Linked DNA regions of Homo sapiens: regions 2, 3 and 4 are each linked to region 1. The links are contacts of gene promoters, found by promoter capture Hi-C in blood cells and fetal thymus (Javierre and others, 2016). All regions are on one chromosome and are shown on one strand. Each heading gives the region's core, a stretch centred on a gene start or on the middle of the fragment in contact. The rest is flanking DNA. Distances are from core to core; before and after follow the strand shown. Region 1 holds the start of SMG9 (SMG9 nonsense mediated mRNA decay factor). Region 2 has its middle 18 kb from the start of ZNF331. Region 3 overlaps SPACA6 (sperm acrosome associated 6). Region 4 overlaps ZNF146 (zinc finger protein 146).

What was found. Contacts are between HindIII fragments. The CHiCAGO score rates a contact against its expected background, and 5 or more counts as called.
Region 2: a fragment that was not itself captured here is called in contact with the fragment with the promoter of SMG9 in region 1 in 2 of 17 cell types (total B cells and non-activated CD4 T cells); the score reaches 7.9 in total B cells.
Region 3: a fragment that was not itself captured here is called in contact with the fragment with the promoter of SMG9 in region 1 in 1 of 17 cell types (naive CD8 T cells); the score reaches 6.3 in naive CD8 T cells.
Region 4: a contact is called between a fragment that was not itself captured here and the fragment with the promoter of SMG9 in region 1, in 1 of 17 cell types (naive CD8 T cells). The highest score is 6.2, in naive CD8 T cells.

The regions. Positions count from the first base shown.
Region 1 is chr19:43,752,232-43,756,875 of GRCh38, reverse strand. SMG9 (SMG9 nonsense mediated mRNA decay factor) reads left to right here and starts at 1,914. Exons shown (of 14, transcript NM_019108.4): 1 at 1,914-2,222. RefSeq lists a silencer at 2,134-2,493 and an enhancer at 2,724-2,983. The HindIII fragment of the contact is 6,293 bases long and covers 1-2,538 here.
Region 2 is chr19:53,517,809-53,522,452 of GRCh38, reverse strand. It overlaps a transcript of ZNF331 not described here. Among named protein-coding and RNA genes, the nearest start is that of ZNF331, 18 kb to the left of the region's middle. RefSeq lists enhancers at 407-1,180, 1,491-1,690, 1,181-1,954, 1,955-2,729. The HindIII fragment of the contact is 293 bases long and covers 1,176-1,468 here.
Region 3 is chr19:51,703,896-51,708,539 of GRCh38, reverse strand. SPACA6 (sperm acrosome associated 6) reads right to left here. Exons shown (of 9, transcript NM_001316972.2): 7 at 4,354-4,510; 8 at 4,060-4,270; 9 at 3,350-3,450. The coding sequence ends at 3,417. Among named protein-coding and RNA genes, the nearest start is that of SPACA6-AS1, 13 kb to the right of the region's middle. RefSeq lists a silencer at 4,174-4,373. The HindIII fragment of the contact is 7,738 bases long and covers 1-4,644 here.
Region 4 is chr19:36,215,580-36,220,223 of GRCh38, reverse strand. ZNF146 (zinc finger protein 146) reads right to left here. Exons shown (of 4, transcript NM_007145.3): 2 at 2,029-2,102. It also overlaps a transcript of ZNF565 not described here. Among named protein-coding and RNA genes, the nearest start is that of ZNF146, 2.8 kb to the right of the region's middle. The HindIII fragment of the contact is 3,004 bases long and covers 1,336-4,339 here.

The sequences.
Region 1 (4,644 bases), core at 665-3,164:
AGAGAGCACACAGCCTGGTACACAGTGGGTCCAAGGTCAATGCCAGGCCTCCTCTTTCCCTCTTTTAAGAAAATTCTACCTCTGAGGGTTGCCCTGACGTGAAACTGGCAATCGTGAGTGATCTGGGGTTGAGAAATTCAGATATGGCCTGAGCTGAAGAAGTAAAATTGGACACTGATAGACATAATACAGAGATGGCCTGTCATGTGTATCTTTATCAAACACCCAGAATCTTTCCCCAGAATCCATCAACAGTGGACTCAAGTCATTCTGGGTGACTGGTGTTTCTACCTGTGGCAGCCTGGAGAGGTGGCTCCACCTGGTACTGGTACTGGGACAATGACAGTAGGGATGAGGCCTGGAGGGGAGAGGGCTGCTCAGAATCTACAACTATCAGCATGGTAGACCACAAAATAATACACAGAGACAACACACAGTACCATTAGGCAACAGGCACTGTTCTATGCACTCTCACCCATTTAATGCTGGCGGCAATGTTGTAAGTAAGGTTATACCACACCCAATTCACAAACAGGGACGTAGAAGTAGAGAGTATTAAGTCACTTGGTCAAGCTCAGCCGCTATTTATATGAACTCAACACATGCTCTTAACTCCAATGCTTTATTATAACAGCAGCTCCAGAAGGAAACCGGGAACCAGTGCTTTAGGAAAGGAAAATGGGAACCAGAGGTGGAAACTTACTTTTATTGTATACAGCCAGAGAGGTTTGAATTGTGTATGTACATGTAATACCTGTTCAAATATAATTTTAAAAAACTTTTTTTTAGACCAGCCACGGTGGCTCACGCCTGTCATCCTAGCACTTTAGGAGGCCGAGGCGGGCGGATCACTTGAGGTCAGGAGTTCGAGACCAGCCTGGCCAACATGGCAAAACCCAGTCTCTACTAAAAATACAAAAAATTAGCCAGGCGTGGTGGACGCCTGTAATCCCAGCTATTTGGGAGGCTGAGGCAGGAGAATCGCTTGAATTTCAGGAGGTGGAGACGGCAGTGATCCGAGATCTCGCCACTGCACGCCAGCCTGGGTGACAGGGCGAGACTCCGTCTCTAAATAAATAAATAAAATAAAAATAAATAAAATTTCAAATAAAAAGCTAGAACCTTCCCATCCACCCACTCTGCCCACTGGGGAACTGCCGACCCTTCCGAATGCGCATGCGCTCTCCAGGCCGCGCCCGTCGCCCAATGTTCCTCTTTGGCGCGCGCAAGACTCCGCCCACGTGTGTTTAAATTTTCGACCCTGGAGCGGATTCCCTTCTCCAACGCGGCCTTCGAGGGTTTTAAACATAGTTCTGTCTCAGACTATTCTGCATCTCCCAGGCCTTAAGGATAAAACTGACACTGGAGACCCTTCAGGGTCTGACCTGCCCATTCTGCTGCCTCACCTCCCACCCAGGTGGACCCTGAATCCAAGCCAGTCTAGACCTCTTCCCCCGGGGTCTTCGCCGCCTTTGCTTAGCTGTTCCCTGGAGTACCCTCGCCTGCCTGTCCTTCAAGGTCCAACCGGACCCGCGCCCTTTCCTAAGTGATTTGAGGCCCTGGCAGTCTCTCCACAGGCCGGGGTGTCTTCCAGGGCGCACGCCAAGTCTGATTCATTCATGTGTTCTTGGCACTCAGCCCAGAACAGTGAAATTCCTCCCTGTCGTCCCACCCCACTGCATCCCGCCAACATCACCGAAGAGGCACAACTCGAACCCCAGATCCGGGCCGCTCTCCCTCCTGCCGGCTCCTCGGCGTATCCATTTCCCTACTCATCTCCCCACCCTCAACCCCCCAACCGCGCGCACGCGCATTGAGTCAGAGCCGCGGCGTCCTCCCGCCTCCCGCTCCGGAACCCGCATGCGTGCTGAAGCCGACCGCCTCCATCCACGCACGCTCAGCCCGGCGAGCGCATTCAGTTCTCGAGCTCCAGCCCTCAGCGCATGCGCAGGACGAGTCGCCTGAGGGAACTGATCTCAGCTCGGGCCCGCGTTACATCCTCCTCCTCTTCTTCCTTCGGCCCAGCTTTCCTTAGGGGCTGCAACCCGGACGCCGAGGCCGGTTTCGGAGTGGGGAGTGCCCATTTTCTCTCCTTCCCACGTTCCTGGCCCCCAGACGCCATTTGCAGGCGGGTGGCTTGGGTCAGCCTCCCCGCCCCCACCCGACTCCCGTCACGGGAGAGCGCACACCGCGCCCCGAGAACCAATCAGCAGCCGCGTTAGGTAAGGGGGCCGCGAGCCCGCGCGAGGCTAGCGCACCGGCGGCGGGCGGGGCGCTCCGGCAGGCCCCGCCCCCGCCTTGGCCATTGAAAGGTCGCTGGGACGTCCGGCGGGGGTGCGGCACTGAGTAGGGGGCCGGCGACCGTCAATTCGATACTGGGTTGGCAGGAATGGGGGCGGGGGACGGAAATAACGTGTAAATGAGAAACTTATGCTCTGCGAGATCCAAGTACAGCCTGCAAACTGCCCGTCAAGTACTGGGGAGGCCGCCCCAATAACGTGTAACGAGAAACTTGAGTTGGGTTCCCCGAGGGAAGCTTTGTAAAGCAATGCCTAAATCCGGGGGAGGCTCCCTTCTAGAACCCCGTAGAGAGAAGTTTAAATCCTAGGGAGTCCTTAGGAAAATGTGCAAATCGACTACAGTTCTGGGCTGGGGAGTGCCCCACGAAGTGGGCTTACATACTCAGGAATCGGGAGAGTCTCCCCAAATATTTGCAAATAGTGAGGTTCTGGGAGATCCCCGAAGGGAGTGTGTGAAGCGATGCCTAAATACTGAGGAGACACTCCCCAAAAATATGTAAATTCGATTTGTTAATTTTCGGGAAGTCACCCTAGAAGTCCATCAGCAGACACTTAAATAGACCAGCTTTCCTAAGTTTGGGGGTAATCCCCAAAGGAGCCCGGAAACAGCATTGGAAGTCCCCAGCTTGCATGTGGGTGGGGTTTTTTTTTTTTTTCTTTGAGACAAGAGTCTCGCTCTGTCGCCCAGGCTGGAGTGCAGTGGCACGATCTCGGCTCACTGTATCCTCCACACCTGGTTTAGGTGGGCTTTTAAGTTCCAAGGAACTCCCCACATTCAGATACTGTGGAAGCTCCCAGAATAAAGGGCACAGGGAGGCCAGGTGCGGTGGCTTACCCGGGGAATCCGATCACTTTGGGAGACCGAGGCTGGCGAATCACTTGAGGCCAGGAGTTCGATACCAGCCTGGCCAACATGGCGAAACCCCGTCTCTACTGAAAATGCAAAACTTAGCCCGGCCTGGTGGTATGCACCTGTAATCCCACCTACTTGGGAGGCTGAGGCAGGAGAATTGCCTGAACCCGGGAGGCAGAGGCCGCAGCCAGCTGAGATCGTGCCACTGCACTCCAGCCTGGGCAACAGAGCAAGACCGTCTCAAAAAAAAAAAAAAAAAAAAAAGAAAAGCATTCACACAGGGGCGCTTACTTTGCACAGGAAAGGGCATCCTCATAGGCCAGTAAACAGAAACCTCAGGGCTGGGCAGTATCCCAATTGAGGCATGAAGACAAGTACTTAAGCACTGGGTAGATTTCAGAATAATGTGTAAAGACACTTAATTGCAAGTGAGGGAGGAGTCTCAGATTCTGGGGAGAATCTCCATCCCAGACTAAGCAGTCATTTCGGTATGGAATGAGTCATTTTCCCTAAGCAGCTGTAAACAGGCCCTTGTCCTCCTCTGTCTAGGAAAGCAGTCTTCAGCCTGGCTTGTGGCTCTGGGAGAGGTCATGTAGCACAGTAGGAGAGGAGCTAGACAAGCCACTTGTCTGGCTAGCAAAATTATGACTGCATCTTGTAAACAGACCCTTCCATTCTGGAGAGTCTCGGAGGGACCTGTTTATGTCATTATGAGGTGGGGCAGGGGAGGATTCATGGAGGGATTTAACAGATACTTCCAAGCTAAGCAAGGGTCAGCAAACTGTTTTTTTGAGACAGGGTTCTGCTTTTTTTTTTTTTTAGACAGGGTCTTGCTTTGTTACCCAGGCTAGAGTGCAGTGGTGCAGCATGATCATGGCAGCCTTGACCTCCCAGGCTCAAGTGATCCCACCACCTCAGCCTCCCAAGTAGCTGGGACTACAGGTGCATGTCACCACGCCCAGCTACTTTTTTCTTTTTTAAATGTTATATAGAGACAGGATCTTGCTATGTTGCCCAAGCTGGTCTCGAACTCCTGGGCTGAAGCAGTCCTCCTGTCTCGGCCTCCCAAAGTGTCGGGATTACAGGTGTGAGCCACCATACTCGGCCATTCAGTAAAACTTTCTGTTAAGGCCAGAGAATAATTATTTTAGGCCCTGCAGACTGTATTGTCTGTCTCAGCTCTGCCATTGCATCAAGAAGGCAGCCACAGACAGTTTCTAAATTGATGGATGTGGCCATGTTCCGATAAAACTTTCTATTTACAAAAACAGAAAGCAGACCAGATTTGGCCCCTAGGCCACACTTTGTCAACCTGACTTCTGAGCTTGAGCAGATAGCCCCACTGAGTTCTACAAACAGTTAAGTAGTCAAATACCACCCTAGACTGATGTGTGAACAGCTGGGAAAACTCTCTAAGGACCTGTAAACAGATACTGAAATGGTGGAGAGTGGGTTGCATAGGTAGCCAGACATTATATAACATCTCAAATA
Region 2 (4,644 bases), core at 73-2,572, 9.8 Mb before region 1:
TCACCTATGCCAACATGGTGAAATCCCGTCTCTACTAAAAATACAAAAATTAGCTGGGCATGGTGGCGTGCGCCTGTGGTCCCAGCTACTTGGGAGGCTGAGGCAGGAGAATCGCTTGAACCTGGGAACCGAGATCGCACCACTGCACTCCAGCCCTGGGCGACAGAGCAAGACTCTGTCTCAAAAAAAAAAAAAACAAAGAAAGAAAATAGGGCACACTTGTCCCCAGACCACAGTTAAAATCAATCAGAAATAAGAGGGCACAGGCATGTGAGTTTTTCAGAGAAATGCTGGAAAACTCTAGGAACTGGGGTTCTGAAACATGGAGCTGCCCCTCTCACCACCTCCCCGCCTCCCATGTCAGGTACCTCTTTCTTCCCCAAAAGGAATTCTATTCTTGAGGTTACTTCCTCTTGTCGTCCAGGTAGTGTGCACGGAGAGCACTTCTGGCTCCAAAACTGCCATCTCGTGACTTGTGAAGCCTTCTTCTTGGTCATTTTCACAATAGCGTAGAGCCTCTCACGTCACTTTGGGACCACTGCTCCCTAGCAGGTACCACATGGCTGGAAGGCCAAGGCACAGGAAGCAACGGAGACACTAGAAAGACAGGTGACATGGTCGCACACACCTGTGCTCACTCAAAAGGCCATGCACCCAGGCCCGATCCCGACCAGTCACAGCCGCACACTCGCTGGCCCTTTCACACCCACAGACGCTCACACCAGAGGGACACTGCCTGTCCCTGTCAACCTGACAGAAGTGCAAAGGCACATTTCAGAGACACGGAGACCCGTCCTGGCCGTGCCACCTCTGCAGACCCCACCAGCATTGACCTCGCACAGAACGGAGGTGCAGAGACACAGCCCGGCTGCGTCACCCCTACAGATGCCCTTACAGCCCGGCGCTATGGCCCTCATAGACGTCTACACACACCTGTGTCACAGTTTATGGGGACAGAGCCCGGCCGCGTCAACCCCGCATGCATCACGGCTTAGGGGAACGGGGCTTGTTCGCATTACCCCACAGACGAAGACAATTATCTCAGTCACTGGGCCACGGCGGGGCCCCACCAGGCAGCCTCTGGCTTATTCACACACACACACACACACACACACACACACTCACACACACTCCCACTTCCCTGCTCGCCGCTCCCGAAGCCTCAGGCCGAAGCTTCTTCATTTTAGGGCCTCCGCGTCCCGAGTGGCTCCCTCACCGCCATTCCCCGCGGAACCCTGCCCTGGCTTCCTCCTGGGAGGCAAATAGCTCCCGGCTCGAGGCCTAACCACACCCAGCACATCAGGAGGTGAAACAAGGTCTCAGGCGCAGTTGGGATAAGATCCAGGAGAAACCATTTTTAAAAATCCCGCGAGCATGAAGCACGCCCCTCAGCCGGCCACCCGGCTCGCTCCTCATTGGACTGTGCCCCAAGGCCCTCTGGGAAATGTAATGCGAAACCAGAGAAGCTTCGACGCAGCTGGAAGGGCGCCCGTCAGTGTTTCCCAGCATGCAACTCTACACGGCGCAAATGGAGCCGTGACCCAGAGGCCTCTGGGAAATGTAGTCCATAACCCGGAAATCCACAGAGTTGGAAGCGGCTGTCAGGATTTCCCAGCATGCAACTCTACGCGACCCTAAGGGCGTCCTGCCTTGAGGGCTTCTGGGAAATGTAGCTCATAACCCGGGAATCGACGTATCTGGAAGGGCGCCCATCAGTGTTTCCCTGCAGGCAACTGCACACGGCCCTAATGGAGCCATGCCCCAGAGACCTCTGGGAAATGCTCACTACGCGGGAATCCTTAGCGCTGGAAGCGCGGCCGTCAGAATGCTTTTCGTCGGTGTCTCCTCCCACTGTTAGAGCAGCTGCACCCCCCATAGACTTCTGGGAAAGCGTATTTCAGACTGGCAGAATCTTCAAATGCTGGAAGCCCTGTCGGCCTTCTCCTGCCCTGAAACTTTGCTTGCTCCTAAGGCGCACCACAAAAAATTCCTGGGAAAAGTGGTTCAGGCTCTAGGGGCCTACAGTTATAATTGCTTACAACTTGCATTTGGGATCCGTCCATAGGGAAGGCGTGTCCCCGCGTCCTTCTGGGAAGGAAATGTAGTCTGAAACGACCAGAAATCACGCCTGTAATCTCAGCACTTTGGGAGGCCGAGGCGGGTATATCACCTGAGATCAGGAGTTCGAGACCCTCCTGCCCAACATGGTGAAACCCCATCGCTCTAAAAATGCAAAAATTAGCCAGGCGTGGTGGTGTGTGCCTGTAATCCCAGCTACTTGGGAGGCTGAGGGAAGAGAATCGCTTGAACCCAGGAGGCAGAGGTTGCAGTGAGCCGAGATCACACCACTGCACTCCAGCCTGGGCGATAAGAGTGAAACAATGTCTCAAAATAATAATAATAATAATAATAAGCCCGGAAAGCTTAAAAGCTGTGATTTGGGAAAAGTTCAAAAATTTCCCAGCATGCAACATGGCCCTCCTTAGAAAAGAGCTGTGCCTCCAGAGCGTTCTTGGAAATACAGCCCCGAGCTGGAAATGCCTCTAGAAAGTGTTAGGTAGGGTGTTTACATGTGAGATTTTGGGGACGTTTCAGCACTGCCCTTTCCCCCACCCCCCAGTAGATTGGGGAGCTCCAGGCATGTGTGTAGGGACCTTGAGTAGGTTCCACGGGAGTGACCTGGTCCTGACTGGGTCTGTGCCAAGGCTCTCTCTGTAAGGGCAGGACTTTGCGTTTCGTTCTCTGATGCTGTCCCAGACTTGGGAGCACTGCCTGGCTCTTCAGATGTCTCTGTGAGTGTTACCTTGGTATGGGCGGGAGAGGCCTGGGCTGTATGGCTTGCTGCCCGGCAGGATATTGACAAGATGTTCTTATGATCAGGCGGTTTGGCCCTTTTTCCGGTGGGATCTCATCAGGATGTTCCTTGGACCTTTGCCAAGAAAGATATGATAGGGATGGTTTTTGTAGTTGGGCCTTTGCCCAGTAGGACATGATGAGAATGTTTCTTTAATTGGGTCTTTGTTCGCCTTGTGGTCAGGTGGTTAGGCAGGATATTTCTCACTGCCTGAACCCCTGTGAAATGTTTCACTTTGACCAAGGTCTGCAAAAGAGCAGGGGGCTTCCGAAATGGTGCAATTTAGACAAACACTGGGGTGTGAGATGCTTTGCCCTAAAAAATATATGCTGTTGTTGGGAGAGAATCATTGGTGGGTGTGACTGGATTTGTGATTGTGTGGACTCATCAGGGAGCCTCCTGGAGCTCAGGTAAGGGAGGGCGCCTGTGAGGTTTTTGGCCTTCATTATGACATGGATGAGATTGTATGTTTCTATGAACGTGTGGGTAAGACTACTGTATAGAGTACCCTTGACATAAGTAACTCCATCTTAGAAAAAGACTCCATCTTGCATTCCACAGGGCACTTTGCCAACAGGGACAAGATGTTTTGCTTAATAAATAAATAATAAAGACTGCATCCAACCAGATAAGGATATAAACAAGCACATTCTTCCACCATCTGTCCTCCCCAGAGGACTCTGTGGCCATAAAAGGAGCAAGGCTTCAGTGGCTTGAAATAACCATCTTAACTGCAACCGTCCTGCTGTCATTTGTGATGAGCACTTGGCATCTGCTGCTGAAGCCTCAAAGACTTCTTGCAAGACCAATGGGCCTGCCCAGCCCTGACCAAGGGTTTTGTTACTCTCCTTGGACTGACTTGTTAACCCTTTTCTCCTATCTCTTTTCTCTTGATGTTAAACATTACTTTGTTTATTGTGAAATGTTTAATCTATAACATTTATATATATTGATTAAGTACACTACTATGTATGGTTTGCAATATTGACTGACTTGTGAAGTGGCTTGAGCCTGCGTGTCTATGGCTCTGACTACCAAGTGAAGGGGCAGTACCAAAGAGAATTGCCTTGTATTAGTCAGGGTTCTCCAGAGAGACAGAACTAATAGGATATATGTCTATAGGAAAGGAAGTTTATTAGGGAGAATTGGCTTAGACGATCACAAGGCCCAGTCCCATGATAGGCCATCTGCAAGCTGAGGAAAAAAGAAGCCAGTAGTGGCTCAGTTCAAGTCCAAAAGCCTCAGAAGCAAGGAAGCCAACTGTGCAGTCGTCAGCCTGTGGCCAGAGGCCACAGGGCCCCCGGCAAACCACCAGTGTAAGTCTAAGAGTCCAAAGACCAAAGAACCTGGAATCTGATGTCCAAGGGCAGGAGAAGCAGAAGGAAGCATCCAGCACGGGAGAAAGATGAAAGCCAGAAGACTCAGCAAGCAAAGGTATCCCACCTTCTTCTGCCTTCTGTGTTCTACCTGAGCTGGCAGCCAATTGCATGGTGTCCACCTACATCGAGGGTGGGTCTTCCTCTCTCCATCCACTGACTCAAACATCAGTCTCCTCTGGCAACACCCTCACAGATACACCCAGAAACAATCCTTTACCAGCTGCCTAGGCTTCCTTCAATCCAATCAAGTTGACACTTAATATTAACCATCACAAGCCTCTTTGGGAACTCCAGGCGGCTCATGGCTTTTGTGATTGAAATAGCATCAATCAAAGCCTGACACTGTGGAAAGATACAAACGTGTGTGGACCTGGTTATCTCTGGACCACTGGTGGTTTGCTGGGGGCTCTC
Region 3 (4,644 bases), core at 910-3,409, 8.0 Mb before region 1:
GAACACTCTTCACACAAATATCCATAATGGCTCATACCGTCATCCCCTTCAAGTTTTTATTCAAACGTCACTTTCTCAGTGAGGGCTTCTCCACAGATCCTACTGCTACTTCCCTCGGCCCCATATTCCATTTCTCTGCTTATCTTCTCCATCACACATATTACCATATTTCGTATTTTACTGTTTTCTTATTGTCTGTGACATAGTAAGAAATACATATTTGGTGTTTGTCCCTGGTTTCTGACAGTCTTATACCCTTGTACTTTCTGGAGTGATGTGGGCAACAGAAGCGTCTTACATAGAGCTCCTAATCTCTTGAATTTCCTGGGTGATAACAGCATCGTTTGTTCTATTCAAGTGACTCTTGGTGGTCTCCTGGAAGAGCGCTGGTCACCAGCAAGACTAGGCTATGATTAGGAGCTTGGAGCTTTCGGCCTCACCCGCTGCCCCCTCCAGTCCTTGGGGAGGGAAAAAGGGGTGGAGACTAAGTTCATAAGCAATCATGCCTACATGGTGCAGCCTCCAGAACAATCCCTAAACTATGGGGTTTGCAGAGCTTCCAGGCTGGTGAGTGCATCCACGCACTGACAGGCCGCTGCATCCCAGCTCCCATGGAGACAGAAACTTCTGCACTTGGGACCCTTCTGGACCTCACCCTATCTACCTCTTCATCTGGCTATTAAGCTATTTCCTTCATACTCTCCTTTATAATAAACCAGTAAATATGTTTCCCTGAGTTATTCAAGCTATTCTAGCAAATTACTGAGCTGGGGGGCTGCAGGTTGCAGGAGCCCCTGGCTTGCGACTGGTGTCTGAAGTGGGGGCAGTCTTGTGGGCCTGAGCTCTTAAAACCTGTGTAGTGCGACGCTAACCCTGGGTTGTTGATTTTAGAATTAAATGAATTATAGGACACTCAACTGGTGTCCGGGAGAGTTGGAGAACTGGTTGGTATGGGGGCAGGAGGTAGAATCCCATACATGTAGTGTCAGAAATGTTGAGAGTAGAGAAACAGTTTTCTGGCCAGGCGCGGTGGCTCACGCCTATAATCTCAGCACTCTGGGAGGCTGAGGCAGGCAATCACTTGAGGTCAGGAGTTTGAGACCAGCCTGGCCAACATATTGAAACCCCGTCTCTACTAAAAATACAAAAATTAGCTGGGCATGGTGGCACACGCCTTTGTAGTCCCAGCTACTCGGGACACTGAGGCACGAGAATTGCTTGAACCCAGGAGGCAAAGGCTGCAGTGAGCCAAGATTGTGCCACTGCACTCCAGGACTCCATCTCAAACAAAACAAAAAAAAAAAAAAAAGGGAGAGAGAGAAACAGTTTTGTTTTACTGTCCACTAGAATGTAAGTTCCATGTGAGTACTGTACAAACTTTTTGTCTCTTCTGATTTCTTCATTGGGATCTCTACAGTGCCTTGAAAATACATGACAAAATAGTAAGCACTCAATAAATATTTGCTGAATGAGCAAATCAATAAAGGGAAATAGACCAGTGAACAAGAATGAGTACATGCTCAAAAGGAGCTTCCCTTTCAGGTAGGAAAGGCAAAACCAAATTAAAAAATGAGTTAACGGCTGGGAGCGGTGGCTCACGCCTGTAATCCCCTAGCACTTTGGGAGGCTGAGACAGGTGGATCACCTGAGGTGAGGAGTTTGAGATCAGCCTGGCCAAAATGGCGAAACCCTGTCTCTTCCAAAAATACAAAATTAGCCAGGTGTGGTGGCGCATGCCTGTGTTCCCAGCTACTCGGGAGGCTGAGGCAGCAGAATCGCTTGAACCCGGGAGGTGGAGGTTGCAGTGAGCCGACATCGCACCATTGCACTCCAGCCTGGGCAACAAGAGCGAAACTCAAAAAAAAAAAAGAGTTAACATTAGGTCCAGATGAGCTCAGTGAACAAGGTGAAATTGGGCAATGTCAAACAGGGAGAGAGAGGTAGTTAGAGAAGGAGACATTTGATCTGGGATCTGTGCAATGAGAGAGGTGGGTTTGTGATACTCAGAGGAAAGTCATTTCAAGTATGAAGCACAGCAAAGGCCTGGAAATGGGACTGAGACTTGCATGTTCCAGGGACCTAATAAGGAGGCCACTGGGGCTGGAAAGTAGCAAGGGGCCTGAGGGAGAGGTAGAGTCAGTTAAGTCAATACAGTGCCAGCCGCGCAGACTTGTCAAGGGGATTAGCGGGGTTAATAGATGTAATGGCTACTCAGGGGAAATCATAAGAGTTAACTAGACAAAAAAAAGGAGAAAATATTATTCTAGGCAGGAAACAGTGTGAACCAAGACCCTAGAGAGGGCAAGAAGTATCATGATGAATGCGAGGAAGGAGGAAAGGCCAGAGAAAAACCGCAGGGTGGCAAGATCAAGGAGGAAAGGGGTATGGGACAAGGCTGCTGGTGAGGTCAGCAAAGGCCAGACCTGTGGAACCTCTGAGGCTTTGACAAGGAATTGGATTTTGTCTCAATGGCAACAGGGAGTCACTAAAGGATTCTGGGTAGAGGAGTAACCCAATCTGACACACTTTAAAACCTAAGTCCTTGGCCGGGCTTGGTGGCTCACGCCTGTAATCCCAGCACTTTGGGAGGCCAAGGCAGGTGGATCACTTGAGGTTAGGAGTTCAAGAACAGCCTGGCCACATGGTGAAACCCTGTCTCTACTAAAAATACAAAAATTAGCCGGGTGTGGTGGTGGGCACCTGTAATCCCAGCTACTTGGGAGGCTGAGGCAGAAGAATCGCTTGAACCCGGGAGGTGGAGGTTGCAGTGAGCTGACATCACATCACTGCACTCCAGCCTGGGCCTTGGAGTGAGATGGTGCCTCCAAAAAAATAAAATAAAATAAAACAAGTCCTGCTGGTATGTAGAGAATGGGCTACAGTGGAGAGAGGCCAAGGAGGTGGTGGGGGGCTGCTCCAGTGATCCAGACATGAGGTGGGGGTGACTGGGACCACAGAGAAGGCAGCTTCATGAGATATTTAGGAGTTAAAAAGTCTGAGGGTTGGAAATGAAAATGAATTGGAAGTGGAGGAGAAGTTAGATTCCAAGGTTTCTGGTTTGAACTGCTAGGTGGATGGTGTTGCTCTTTCTGGTAGGAGGAAAGCCTTGGGGAGGAACAGCCTCTGAGGGCAACATGGAGGACTCTATTTGAGGGTGCCTTCTGCAGATGGAAATGTCAAGGAGACAGCCAGTAACCTGAGGGGGTATCTGGGTTCCCACCTAACTTGCACTGGGATAGCTATGCCTATCACTGTCATTATGCGGGCCATATTCATCTGGGCATGTGTGGGCTTGCTGCACCTCCTCCTACCTGAGTTAGTAGTGACCACCTTCGGAGATGAAACAATCTAGAGTTGAAATATATTCTTTATTTTCAGGATGGAAATAGGATAGGGAAGGAGGAAAGATACCTTTGTTAGTTGCCACTGCAGTACCATCGAAAGAACATCCTGGGGAAACAAAGAGGTATGTGTGTTACAGGAGGGGTTGGTGACTAGAAACTTAGGTCCCGGAGCCTGGACACCAGGGTCAAAAAGGTGTACAGGGCCCGGACTCCTGGTTCTGAGGGAGGAGGGGGCAGGGGGCCTGGGCTTTTGGGTCTGAAGGAAGAGAAACTTGGGGGTCTGGACTCTTGGATCTGAGGGAGGAGGGGCTGGGGGCCTGGACTCCTGGGTCTGAGGGAGGAGGGGGTCCGGGGGCTTGGACTCTTGGATCTGCGGGAGGAGGGGACTGGGGACTTGGACTCCTGGGTCTGAAGGAGTAGGGGTTTGGGGCCTGGAATCCTGGGTCTGAGGGAGGAGGGGCTGCGGACCTGGACTCCTGGGTCTGAGGGAGGAGGGGCTGGGGGCCTGGACTCTTAGATCTAAGGGAGGAGGGGGCTGGGGACTTGGATTCCTGGGCTAGTAAAGAGGGGCTGGGACCTGGACTCGTGGGTCTGAGAGAGGAGGAACTGAAAGCCTGACCTCCTGGGTTGGAGGTTGCTGGGAACCCAGACTTCTCGGTGGGATCTGAGACAGCGGGGAGCTAGATGCTGGGGCTCCGGAGTCCCCAGAACTCACCACGCCAACACTGTCGCACTCGCTGATGCGAGGGCCCCGAGGACTGCAAGCAGGAACAGATTGCTGGGCGTCAGAGCCTCGGGCCTGGCCAGCAGCTCGCCCAGGCTGGGCCTCCAGGGCTCGATCAGCTCGGCATCCCGCGGCGCCCAGCGCAGCACTTCCCGGAACGAGGCCTGCAACTCTGTCTCCGCCCGCGGGGGCGGGCCCGTCACTGCGGGGGCGCGCACGTCAGCCAGGCACGAGCCCCACCCCTCTCCCGACCCCGCTCACTCACGCGGCCGCGCCCCGCCCCACCGTTAAGAAAGAAGTAGAGCCGGGCCAGGGGGCGCTGGTCTTGCTTGATCACGCAGGAGAACGTCCCGCGGTGCGTGAGCTGAGCCGGCCGGATCCGCGCCAGGTATCCTTCGGCCCGCGGCATATCTCGGAAATAGGACAAGTCCTGAGTCCGGAGCTGCGGGACACGCGGGTTTAAACGCCTCAACTCCGGCTTGCCACTGAGTAACCTACAAGCCCCGCCCCCCGAGCCAGACCACGCCCCCTGGAGTCCTGGCCCTGAGCCTTGAGCCCGCCCCCGAGCCTTCTCGC
Region 4 (4,644 bases), core at 1,588-4,087, 7.5 Mb after region 1:
GCCTTAAAACAATGTTACCCCTGGGCAATGAGCACACCCTTGATCTTGTCTCTAATACCATTCTCCAATAAAAGGAACCAGAGCTCCTTGGAGAAATGGTCAATTCCAAGTCTGGGAGGAAGATACAAGCCTGCAGTGCAGGAAAACTTTCCAAGATCAATGATGTCAGCCAAAATGAGACAAGAATGACCTGAAGGGGTATCCACTGGCATCAAAAAGTGCAGCTGATTCTAGAACACGCTAAATATACACAACTTTAGGATGATGTTTAAGAAAGAAAAAGCCAGGGGGAAAAAAAGATACAATTTGATGTAACAATGAAACAAATGTAAAAGGAATGAAAAGACAAGAGAAATTAAGACTATACTTCCAGGGATCATTTCTAGTTTGTTCCCAGAAGTTTCTCTTAACGTATAGACTACTACATTTTTACACAAAACAAACAAACAACAACAACAAAAAAAACAGAAAATCATCACTTTACAATACCTGTAGAAATTTACTCATCCAGCCAAGAATTATGTATTGGTTTTAAAACCATCCACTAAATGACTGATGGAGAATGAACCAAAGTAAACATAACATTTTGGTCAAAGGGAAGTAACAATCACCAGCCATCTGGTATATCTCTCCTAATGGTATGCAATTTGAAGTATGTAAGATCACCTCTGATGTATTCTGGCCAAAAATCAATCACAATTAGAATTAAAAAAAAAATCATCAGAGATTCTGAATTAGAACCATGCAAAAGTAATCATAGAAATCAAAGAACAAATCTTCCAAAGGAGCGGATAATGATGACTTTCTAAAGATAAACATAACTCAAACACAGAAATCTAACTTCCAGCCTGGGCAACATAGTAAGACTCCATCTCTACAAAAAAAGGTTTAAAAATTAGCAGGTCGTGGTGGCACACACCTGTAGTCCCAACCACTGCGGGGGTGGGGCTGAGGTGGGAGGATCTCTTCAGCCCAGGAGGTGGAGGCTGCAATGAGATGTGATCGCACCAGTGCACCCAGCCTGAGCCAGAGTGAGACCCCATCTCAAAAATCAAAAAACAAACCTAACTTCCTGATTCCAGTTAAAAAAGGAAATATCCACAGAAAATTTTAAGTGGCCAGGCGCAGTGGCTCACGCCTGTAATCCCAGCACTTTGGGAGGCCGAGGTGGGCGGATCACGAGGTCAGGAGATGGAGACCATCCTGGCTAACACGGTGAAATCCCGTCTCTACTAAAAATACAAAAAATTAGCCGGACGTGGTGGTGGGCGCCCGTAGTCCCAGCTACTTGGGAGGCTAAGGCTGGAGAATGGCGTGAACCTGGGAGGTGAAGCTTGCAGTGAGCCAAGATAGCACCACTGCACTCCAGCCTGGGCGACAAACCGAGACTCTGTCCCCCCCTCCACCAAAAAAAAAGAAAATTTTAAGTAAAAAAATTAAAATATAGAAATATTAGGCCGGGCGCAGTGGCTCACGCCTGTAATGCCAGGACTTTGGGAGGCTGAGGCAGGTGGATCACAAGGTCAGGAGATCCAGACCATCCTGGCTAACGCGGTGAAACCCCATCTCTACTAAAAATACAAAAACAAAATTAGCCAGGCGTGGTGGCTGGCACCTGTAGTCCCAGCTACTCAGGAGGCTGAGGCGGGAGAATGGCATGAACCAGGGAGGCAGAGCCTGCAGTGAGCCGAGATCAGGCCACTGCACTGCAGCCTGGGCGACAGTGAGACTCCATCAAAAAAAAAAAAGAAATATTAATAACAAAAGTGCATCTACATATCTTATTCTTTCAGAAATTCCTACCAGACACAGGACTATAATATTTTCTGAGGAAGCATTTTTTTTGCAGCTAGTAATAAAAAGTACTAGTATTTAACATTAATCAAGTACTTACTACACACTGGGGACTATTCTTAGAACTTTACATGTATTAACTTCTGGAGCTACACAACCACCCTTTGAATCAAATATTGCTATTATTTCTATACTATGAAATGAGCAACTGAGGCCCAAGGTTTAAGTACCTACCTGAGGTCCCCAAGGTAAAAAGTGGCAGAGGAAGGAGTTAACACAGGAAGTCTGGCTCCTTGGCCTATGTCTTCCTTTAATTTAAAAAAAAAAAAAAAAAAATTAGCTCATGCCTGTAATCCCAGTACTTTGGGAGGCTGAGGCAGGCAGATCACATGAGGTCAGGAGTTCGAGACCAGCCTGGTCACCATGGTGAAACCCCGTCTCTACTAAAAATACAAAGCCTTTGCCCTGTCTATTCCAGTACCCCCACCCCAACAGCCAGTTTTATTATTTCGTATGTATCTTTTGAATTTTTTTTTTTTTTTTTGAGATGGAGTTTCACTCTCGTTGCCCAGGTTGGAGTGCAATGGCGCAATCTCTGTTCACTGCAACCTCCGCCTCCCGGGTTCAAGCAATTATCTTGCCTCAGCCTCCCAAGTAGCTGGGATTAACAGGCATGTGCCGCCACGCCTGGCTAATTTTGTATTTTTAGTAGAGACGGGGTTTCTCCATGTTGGTCACGCTGGTCTCAAACTCCTGACCTCAGGTGATCCGCCTGCGTTGGCCTCCCAAAGTGCTGGGATTATAAATACATATTCTTATTACCCCTTTTCTTATTCCAAATGCATCGTGTATCATACTCTACATTCTGCACCTTGCTTTCTCTCAGTTAACAATACATTTTGAAGTTATTTCTGTCTCAGTATATAAAGAGCTTCCTCCTCATTCTTTTGTACAGCTATGTATTATTTTGTTGTATCGATGTACACCAATCTCCCACTGATGGGCATGAACTGTTTTTCTTTTCTTTCTTCTCTCTCTCTCCTTTCTTTCTTTCTTAAGACAGGGTCGGCCAGGCACCGTGGTTCATGCCTGTAATCCTAGCACTTTGGGAAGCCGAGGCGGGCCGATCACTTGAGGTCAAGAGTTCAAGACCAGCCTGGCCAACATGGTAAAACCCTGTCTCTACTAAAAATACAAAAAAAGTAGCCGGGTGTGGTGGCAGGCAACTAATCCCAGCTACTCGGGAGGCTGAGCCAAGAGAATCGCTTGAACCTGGGGGGCAGAGGTTGCAGGGAGCAGAGATTGGGCCACTGCACTCTAGACTGGGCAAGAGAGAGAGACTCCATCTCAAAAAAAAAAAAAAAAAAAAAAAAAGACAGGGACTGGCTGTCCACCAAGCTGGAATGCTGTCGCCAGGATCTCTGCTCACTGCAGCCTTGACCTCCTAGGCTCAAGTGATCCTCCCACCTCAGCCTCCCAAGCAGCTAGGACTACGGGAGATCTCACTATGTCGCCCAAGCTGGTCTCTAACTCCTGGACTCTAGCCATCCTCCTGCCTTGGCTCACAGGTGTGAGCCACCAAGCCCGGCCTGAGGCTTTATATTTAAAATGTGTTGGGTCCCCATCTCCCCACACCTCAACGCCTTTTCTTTCTCAGTCTGTACTGGCTCTTGCAGCTTGTCTCTTTCCATAGTAAGTCTAGGATCAGTTCCCCTAGTTCCAAAAGAGAAAAGCCTGTCCATACTTTTATTAGGATCACATTATTACTATTATTGAGACGGAATCTCGCTCTTGTCCAGGCTGGAGTGCAGTGGCGAGATCTGGGCTCACTGCAACCTCCGCCTCCCAGGTTCAAGCGATTTTCCTGCCTCAGCCTCCGCGGTAGCTCAGATTACAGGCGCCCGCCACCACGCCCGGCTAATTTTTGTATTTTTTTATTTTATTTTTTTTTAGTAGAGACAGGGTTTCACCATGTTGGCCAGGCTCCTCTCGAACTCCTGATCTCAGGTAATCCACCCATCTCGGCCTCCCAAAGTGCTAGGATTACAGGCATGAGCCACCGCACCCGACCAAGATCACAGTAAATTAATACATTCACTTAAGTTTGCGCACACTTCTTAATGTCACATGGTATATTTATTTGTTCACATTTGTTATGCCCCTTAGTAGTATTTTAAAGTTCTTTCCTAATAGTTCTGAACCTTTAAGTTTCTTCCACAATACTTTATCTTTTTACTGCTATTGTAAATATTAGTTTTCTTCAACTATGTATTCTAACTGATATTTGTAAATTAGAAGGCTATTTATTTATAGATATTAACTTGGTACCCAATTACTTTATTTAACTTTTTGTAATTTAAAACTATGTCAATGACGACAGCGGGGGCGGGGTGATTTCCTTAGAAAACGCATCTTTGGAGACGTCAGTAGCATTCTCCATTACTTCACAAAATCCATACAACCTGAGAACGCCTCGACTCATTAAGGAATTAAGACACCTAGGATTTAGTCCAGACTCATAGATAAACACTGCAACAATTAAGCTTTCTTCAAAAAATGAGGATAACTGTGCCTAACCTAAAACCGTTGACTCCCTCATCCTGGGCGCCGTTATATGGGATTGCTTCTCAAAGCGTACAATGCTGTTTAGTCTAGGGCTTTGCTTAACAGCCCTATTTAAGTACCCCAAAGATGGGGATTTGAATAGTCTGAAGTAGGCACCCCGAAACTAAAGTTCCTTCGAAACACTCTCGTTTAATTAAAAAAAAAAGTCACGGTGATTTGCATGCCACTCCAATTAAAAAGAAATGCTTTTATATAAAAACTCGTTTTAAAATTATTCACCACTTA